Regions from separate parts of the Homo sapiens genome. Here region 1 is linked to region 2. Evidence: promoter capture Hi-C in 16 types of primary human blood cells and fetal thymus (Javierre and others, 2016). All regions are on one chromosome and are shown on one strand. Each heading gives the region's core, a stretch centred on a gene start or on the middle of the fragment in contact. The rest is flanking DNA. Distances are from core to core; before and after follow the strand shown.

The links. Contacts are between HindIII fragments. The CHiCAGO score rates a contact against its expected background, and 5 or more counts as called.
Region 1: a contact is called between a fragment that was not itself captured here and the fragment with the promoter of FANCD2 in region 2, in 1 of 17 cell types (fetal thymus). The highest score is 5.2, in fetal thymus.

Annotation. Positions count from the first base shown.
Region 1 is chr3:9,365,017-9,369,231 of GRCh38, forward strand. THUMPD3 (THUMP domain 3 tRNA guanosine methyltransferase) reads left to right here. Exons shown (of 10, transcript NM_001114092.2): 2 at 1-304; 3 at 1,892-1,969. The coding sequence starts at 53. Among named protein-coding and RNA genes, the nearest start is that of THUMPD3, 4.1 kb to the left of the region's middle. The HindIII fragment of the contact is 1,259 bases long and covers 1,854-3,112 here.
Region 2 is chr3:10,024,378-10,028,182 of GRCh38, forward strand. FANCD2 (FA complementation group D2) reads left to right here and starts at 2,060. Exons shown (of 44, transcript NM_001018115.3): 1 at 2,060-2,096. It also overlaps the pseudogene CIDECP1. RefSeq lists enhancers at 251-887, 1,523-2,158, 2,159-2,793. The HindIII fragment of the contact is 7,543 bases long and covers 244-3,805 here.

The DNA of each region.
Region 1 (4,215 bases), core at 1,233-3,732, 660 kb before region 2:
ACAGTACTGCTTTTAAAGAGACAGTGTTAGGGATCTTGGAAGCACAGCCAACATGTGTGACATTGAAGAAGCCACTAACCAACTCCTAGATGTGAACCTTCATGAGAACCAGAAGTCTGTACAAGTGACAGAAAGTGACCTCGGAAGTGAATCTGAGCTTCTAGTCACTATTGGAGCCACTGTACCTACTGGCTTTGAGCAAACAGCTGCAGATGAAGTCAGAGAGAAACTTGGGTCATCATGCAAAATCAGCAGAGACCGTGGCAAGATATATTTTGTCATTTCAGTGGAAAGTCTGGCACAGGTTTGAATGGAGCAATATTTAAAATAGTTTTCTAAGTTGATCATTTTATGGTTACTTTTCATTTTATAGACCCTTCTGGAATCCTTTCTGATTTTCATTGCTCTGCCCCAAATCAGGTGATTTTAAAGTTACTGCATTTTCTATTGAGTACTGATTTGTAATTTTGACTGTAGTTTCAGTATCCCTTAGGACCAAAAGTGTTTCAGATTTTTGGAGGGGGGTGGGGGGAGTTTTGGAATATTTGCATTATACTTGCCAGTTGAGCATTTCTTTTTTTTTTCTTTTTCTTTGAGACAGAGTCTTGCTCTGTCATCAGGCTGGAGTGCAATGGCGCGATCTTGGCTCACTGCAACCTCCGCCTCCCAGGTTCAAGCAATTCTCCTGCCTCAGCCTCCCCAGTAGCTGGGACTACAGGCGCCCGCCACCGCATCTGGCTAATTTTTGTATATTTAGTAGAAACGGGGTTTCACCATCCTGGCCAGGCTGGTCTCGAACTCCTAACCCCGTGATCCACCCGCCTCGACCTCCCAAAGTGCTGGGATTACAGGCCTGAGCCACTGCGCTCGGCCTGCCAGTTGAGCATTTCTAATCTGAAAATCCGAAATGCTGCACTGAGCATTTCCTTTCAGCATTGTGTTGGGGCTCAAAAAGTTTCAGATTTTTAGATGTGGGCTGCTCAACCTGTAGTAGGATTGCTACATTTTTAGAGGTGATCTAGTATTTCTTGAGGATTGAATTCACCAGAAAGAATACTGTTCAACTTAAGAAATTCTCTAAGTATCTCAGTATTTATTTACTTCAGCATATAGCAGATGTTTAACCTTTGGTGATGAAACATAAAAGAGATTTTCCTTTTAATTTGCATCAAAAATTCTTGCTCAGAAGTAATTAGGACTCACTCAAGGTAAAAAGTGAAGGTCAGAAAACTGCAATCTCACTATCATAAAGCTGATATATCTCATTACCACATAAGCAGTGAGAGGGCAAGGATTGTTGTCTATTTTTTTTTCCACCAATATATCCCACGCTCTTAGTGTCTGGCATATAGTAGGTACCCAGAAAATATCTGTGGGATGAATTGGTAAGCAAATGTTTTCCATCCAATATTTTAGCCAATACCCTCAGCAGCTTTGTGAAGATAGGCACTATTATTATCCTCATTAATCATTAGGCTTAGGACACATAAATAATTTCCCCAGGGCCACTCAGCTAGTAATCACAGAACTGGAGCTCAAATCCCCTGCTTTTAACCATTGCAGCATACAGTGTACCCTAGAAAGTCATCGAGGAAATATGATACAGCCCACCTGAGTGGCTTCACCTTTCTCTTCTCCCACAAAAGACGTGTTGCCCACAAAACACTTCATGCTTCTCTCTTTCCATCTGCCCTTTTTCCCTTTCTCTAGGGGAAAGCTGATTAGTAACCAAAGAGATGAGAAACTAGGGAGATGGGACATTTTAAAAATACAAAATATAGTTAGTAGCTGCTTTAAAACTATCATTCCTAATTTTTTAAATACTTAATTGTTGATAGCTTGTGCTGTTCAAAAGCTTTCTCAGAAATGTGTTTCTTTTTTTTTCACCCAGGTTCATTGTCTGAGATCAGTTGATAACTTATTTGTGGTGGTTCAGGAGTTTCAAGATTACCAGTTCAAACAAACAAAGGTGAGCTATCCTAAACATGGTGGCTGATTTTTGGCTGTCTTCCACAAAGAGATTATTTCCATTTTTCATAGTCTGTGAAAGTTTAGCATTACTGTAGTCTTTGTAATAGAGAATACTGGGAGGCTTTTACAGTAAAATCTAGAGTTTTGCTGACAGTCTATCCCAAAAGATGTTTTTTGAAAATTAGTATTGAAAACCATTAAAGTTTATAAGAAAGAAGAAAACACCTTGTTTTACTTGTAAGAGATATAAACCTTAGATTTGCTTTGCTTTTACATATATTTAGTTCCAAAAGAGAATTGCTTCCAGAACATGAACCAAAGAACAAGTGACAGTTTGTGTCTTCTACAAATAACACTTCCTCACCATCCTGCTTTTGCTCTGCTTTCTTCTCTTTCTTCATTTTTTGAAATAAAGCCAAAATAACATCTAAATACTCCTTCAGTTGTTAGGACAACAGCTTTGTCTCCAATATGTATTTAGCATCTGAATCCTAAATATTCAGCTGCTGCCTAAGCTGAAGGTTGAAAATAGATTGCAGCAAGGCTTTAGGTTTTTTCCACACTGCTTTTTGGTTAGGTTTCTAGAGTTAACCGCTTAAAAACATTTTTCTATCAGTTTTACGTATCTTAGAAATAATCTTTTTAAAAACAACTGTGATACGCTACCTAATTGTCTAACTTTTATTTATTGGCAAGCATGTTGATTTCCAAAACGTTATTCAAAAACGAGTCAAAGTTGTATGAACCCTCAGCCTAGAAAACAATAAGACCAGACCTAAAAGAAGTCAGACTTAAGGGCCTGGCGTGGTGGCTCACACCTGTAATCCCAGCACTTTGGGAGGCCGAGGCGGGTGGATCATGAGGTCAGGAGATCGAGACCATCCTGGCTAACACGGTGAAACCCCGTCTCTACTAAAAATATAAAAAATTAGCCGGGCGTAGTGGTGGGCGCCTGTAGTCCCAGCTACTCAGGAGGCTGAGGCAGGAGAATGGCGTGAACCCGGGAGGCGGAGCTGGCAGTGAGCAGAGATCACACCACTGCACTCCAGCCTGGGCGACAGAGCGAGACTCCATCTCAAAAAAAAAAGTCAGACTGAAAATAGATAAAAATTGTATTAAGTAAAAATCTAACTTTTAGAAAAGCTTAAAGCAATTCTAATGAGTTCTCTTAAGTATTCAGATGATAATCATGAATTTATTAGTCCCCACCCCCCTCTTTTAAAAAATATTGAGATGGGGTCTCACTATGTTGCCCAGGCTGGTCTCAAACTTCTGGGCTCAAGTGATCCTCCCACTTAAGCCTCCCAAAGTGCTGGGATTACAGGTGTAAGCCATTGCACCTGGCCCCCATTCCCCACCTCCACCCGCGCATATTTTTTTTTTTTTTTTTTTTGAGACAGAGTCTTGCTCTGTTGCCTAGGCTGGAGTGCAGTGGCACAATCTCAGCCTACTGCAACCTCTGCCACCTGGGTTCAAGCGATTCTCCTGCCTCAGCCTCCCGAGTAGCTGGGACTATAGGCATATGCCACCATGCCCGGCTAATTTTTGTATTTTTAGTAGAGACGGGGTTTCAGCATCTTGGCCAGGCTGGTCTTGAACTCCTGACCTCGTGATCCACCTGTCTTGGCCTCTCAAAGTGCTGGGGTTACAGGCGTAAGCCACCGCGCCTGGCCTCCATCTGCCTTTTTAAAAGTATGAACAAATCTGTGATTTATATGGGTTTTTAAAGACTAGTTAATACATGTATTTGGAGCAAACTTGTAAAGACTGAATGGATATAGAGTGAAAAGTAAGTCTTTGTTCCTATATCCTCATGCTATGCAGCTCCCTCCCTGGAGGCAACAACTGTTAGCAATTTCTTGGGTATTATTCTGGAGATATTTTACGAATAAATGTATTTTATTTACACAAATGAAAGCATAGCATACATACTTTTCTGCGCTATGCTTTTTTTTCATATACAAGTTGAGTATCCCTTATCTGAAATACTCGGGACCAGAAATGTTTTGGATTTTTGTTTGTTTGTTTTTTGAAATATTCTGGGTTGGGCATGGTGGCTCACACCTGTAATCCCAGCACTTTGGGAAGCCAAAGCAGGTGAATCATGAGGTCAGGAGTTTGAGAGCAGCATGGCCAAGGTGGTGAAACACCATCTCTACTAAAAATACAAAAATTAGCCGGGTGCGGTGGCGGGCTTCTGTAATTCCAGCTACTCGGGAGGCTGAGGCAGGAGAATCACTTGAA
Region 2 (3,805 bases), core at 810-3,309:
AAAGGAGAAGACATAGATTCTTAAGAATATGGAACTCTGGTTTGAGAGGTACCGAGTTTAAAGTTTTATTCTAAGACAATGTCATTTAGGCCTGGTACAGTGGCTCACACTTATAATCCCAGCACTTTGGGAGGCTGAGATGGGAGGATCCCTTGAGCCCAGGAATTTGAGACCAACTGGGCAACATAGTGAGACCCTGTCTCTGCCAAAAATAAATAGATGTCTTTCAGTTACAAATTACAAAGCTTTATCTTTATAACAGTACAAGGACTTATTTTTAGATATTCACAAAAATAAAAATACAAAATTAAAAATTTCTTGCGGAATTTGCAAACTTCAGATAACACAGATATTGAGTGTTTAGAAAATACAGGATAATTTAAGATTGCTTATTTAGGGTCTTAAAATACCTCAGGGTCATGATATTCAACTCCATTTCTACAAAACTATTCAGCAGCGTAAATATAGGAGAGCTAGATGAATTTCTTTTGATTACACTGCCTGGAAAAGTCTTGAATTATCGTAGACTGAACAAGTGTTTTTTCGTTTGTTTTTCTGGAGACAGGGTCTTGCTTTGTCACCCAGGCTGGACCAAAAAGGTCGAGGCTGCAGTGATTGAGGCTGCAATCGCAGTGGTGCGATCATGGCTCACTTCAGCCTCGAACTCCCGGGCTCAAGTGATCCTCACACCTCAGCCTCCCGAGTAGCTGGGACTACAGGCACACACCACTGCACCTGGCTAATGTTTAAATTTTTTTGTAGAGACAGTGGTCTCATTGTGTTGCCCAGGCTGGTCTTGAACTCCAGGGCTCAAGCGATCCTCCCACCTCAGCCTCCCAAAGTATTGAGATTACAGGTGAGAGCCACCACGCCTGGCTGTGAACAAGTTTTTTGATGGCCTACCATGTGCCTTGCACTCTGCTGCATGCTATGGGGTATAGAGTAAGGCAAGGTCATGACCCTGCGCTCAGAGTTTCTGTTCAAGTGATAAAATATGCAAACGGAAAAATAATAGATACTTAATCTAGTGCAACAAGAGCGAAACTCCGTCTCAAAAATTAAATTAAGTTAAATTAAATAAATAAATAAATACTGCAATGAAGTATGTGAGGAAGTTGCCTCCACCCTAGGAAGGGAAATGATAATTACAATTCCTTACATGTCTAACAGCAGTGTTACAGATTGCAAAGCGCTTTGGTGCTTAGCATCTCAGCTAACCATTGGAACAGTAATTTGGTAGAATGCAGATTATCACACTCACTTGACTGGATGTTACAAATACTAAAAGCTATAAAGCACCAGGCACTCTTCCCAACGAAAGGGTGGGATGGGATAGTTCATAGGTAAACCCACCGAGGGTTGGCGACTAACCTAAAGGATTAACAGCACCGTTTTTGTTTTTTGTTTTTAACACTCAATACGTCCTAGATCCTGTGCTAAGGGATTTACAGACATCATCTAATTTGATTCCCACCTGTCTATGAGGGAGGTACTGTTATTATCCCCATTTCACAGAGGACAAAAGTGAAACACAGAGGTAACGGGTAAGGTCACCTTGCCAGTGGGGGCGAGACGTGAACCTAGGCAAACTGACACAACGCCTGCACTTTCTTGTCCAAGGTCACGGCGGTGTGAGGTAGGCTGGGGAAGGGAGGGCGCTGACCTGTCAGATACTTGTTCCTGGGTGAGCTTCTTGTCGCTCTCCAGCAGGATGGACACGTAGTGGCGGATCATGTCTACGAAGAGTGATAACGATGGGTAGGACCACCCAGAGGCAGATGTTGGAGTCAAGCAACAGTTCTGGCCCTGCCATCTTCACTGAAAGCTGGCTCCCAGCCGGTGATGGGCGAGCTTCTCTTCACCGGGGCGCAGTTGCTTCTCTCTGACGTCGCCTCTGGGCCTTCTCTCGCCCCTATGCCCGGCTAGCACAGAACTCTGCTGCAGCGGTGAGCCCAGCTTATTGCCTTCAGCTGGGCTGCCCGGCCTTCCACTTCCGGCGCGGAAGTTGGCGTCACGTCATGGCGCGCCTCGGTGGCGTCAGAGCGGCGTCGGGCCTGGCGGGAAAGTCGAAAACTACGGGCGGCGACGGCTTCTCGGTGAGTAAGTGGAGCAATGGTCGTAGTCTCTCGAGGCCCCGCTCCCCTGCGGCCTAATCTCTAAGTCCGGGCCGCGGTCGGCGTTCTCCTCTGGGGCTCCGCGCCCCGAACCTTGGCTTCCTCATCTGCCCTGAGATGGGATAATCCCCACAGGTACCTTTCTGCGTCATTAAAATGCGGAAACGAGAAAGGCTTTTACCCTCACCCGCTTCCCGATGAACTAATCCAGGCAGTCGGCCTCATCTCACTTCTGTTGGGCTTTTCTGGAAGCCAGATGGTATCGCACGTGTTAAAGGCGGGTGCCTGGAAGCCGGACGTGCTGACAAGACTTAGTTTTTCCATCTGCAAGATGGCTGATAATGGTTATCCGTATTAACCGAAGCGGCGATAAATAAAAAGTTTAGCACAGGGCCCGGTACCTCGTAAATGTTAACCATTATTAGAAGTCATTATAATCATCAAGAGTAAGTATAGGTGGTGAAGAGCGCAGGTGCTGAAGCCAGACTCCGAGTTAGAATCCCAGTTCTGCCCGTGATGATGAGAATAATGGTACCCACCTCAAAAAGTTTTGTGGGAAATAAATGAATTATTAAATATAAAGCACTTGAAACAGTTCTTGTTAGCTTTTAGCATTTCCCCTGCACTGCGAGCTTTTTTCACTCTGAATATTCTCAGAAATTTTCCTTATGCCGGTAACTATGCTGGGCATTAGGGACATTGAGTAAGTGAGACTGGGTTCCTGCTCTCAAAGAGCCCCAGTCTAGTGTGAGGTAAGGGCCCCTAGGTATACCCTGTGGAGCAGGGAAGCTGCAGTAGCAAACTCCCTTAGGGATAGGAGGAACACTTTTCAAGGAAGATGACATTCGATTGAATGTTTAGATCTGAGTAGGAATTTCCAGGCAAATAAGAGCACTTCAGATGAAAAGAACACCTTTGTGCAAAGGCACTGAGACCACGAAGGTTCTGATTTACAAGATTAAAAGGTCATGTGATTCAGGCACTTCCCCCACCTCTGCTGTCTGATTTCTAACTCCACATCTCCTTGTTTCAGTATGAGTATCTATTTGCCTGGACTCCTCTTCTCCTACCCCTTCTACTGGCTAACTGCTGTTTCAGCCCTCAAGTCCCTGCCTAAAAATCACTTCTTCAGGCCGGGCGCGGTTGGCTCACGCCTGTAATCCCAGCACTTTGGGAGTCCGAGGCGGGCGGATTATGAGGTTATGAGATCAAGACTATCCTGGGTAACACGGTGAAACCCCGTCTCTACTAAAAATACAAAAAATTAGCCGGGCGTGGTGGCGGGCGCCTGTAGTCCCAGCTACTTGGGAAGCTGAGGCAGGAGAATGGTGTGAACCCGGGAGGTGGAGCTTGCAGTGAGCCGAGGCTGCACCACTGCACTCCAGCCTGGGTGACAGAGTGAGACTCCGTCTCAAAAAAAAAAAAAAAAAAAATCACTTCTTTAGGCCGGGCGGCTCACACCTGTAATCCCAGCACTTTGGGAGGCCGAGGTGGGTGGATCACTTGAGGTCAGGAGTTTGAGACCAGCCTAGCCGACATGGTGAAACCCTGTCTCTACTAAAAAAAAAAAAAAAAAAATTCAAGGAGATTGTCCCTAAGAAATGGTCCTTGCTTCTCTTTACCACCCTTACTAGCAACTAGACTAAATTTCCTAGTAAGCCCTCATAGAACCTGTACTTTTATAGCACTTA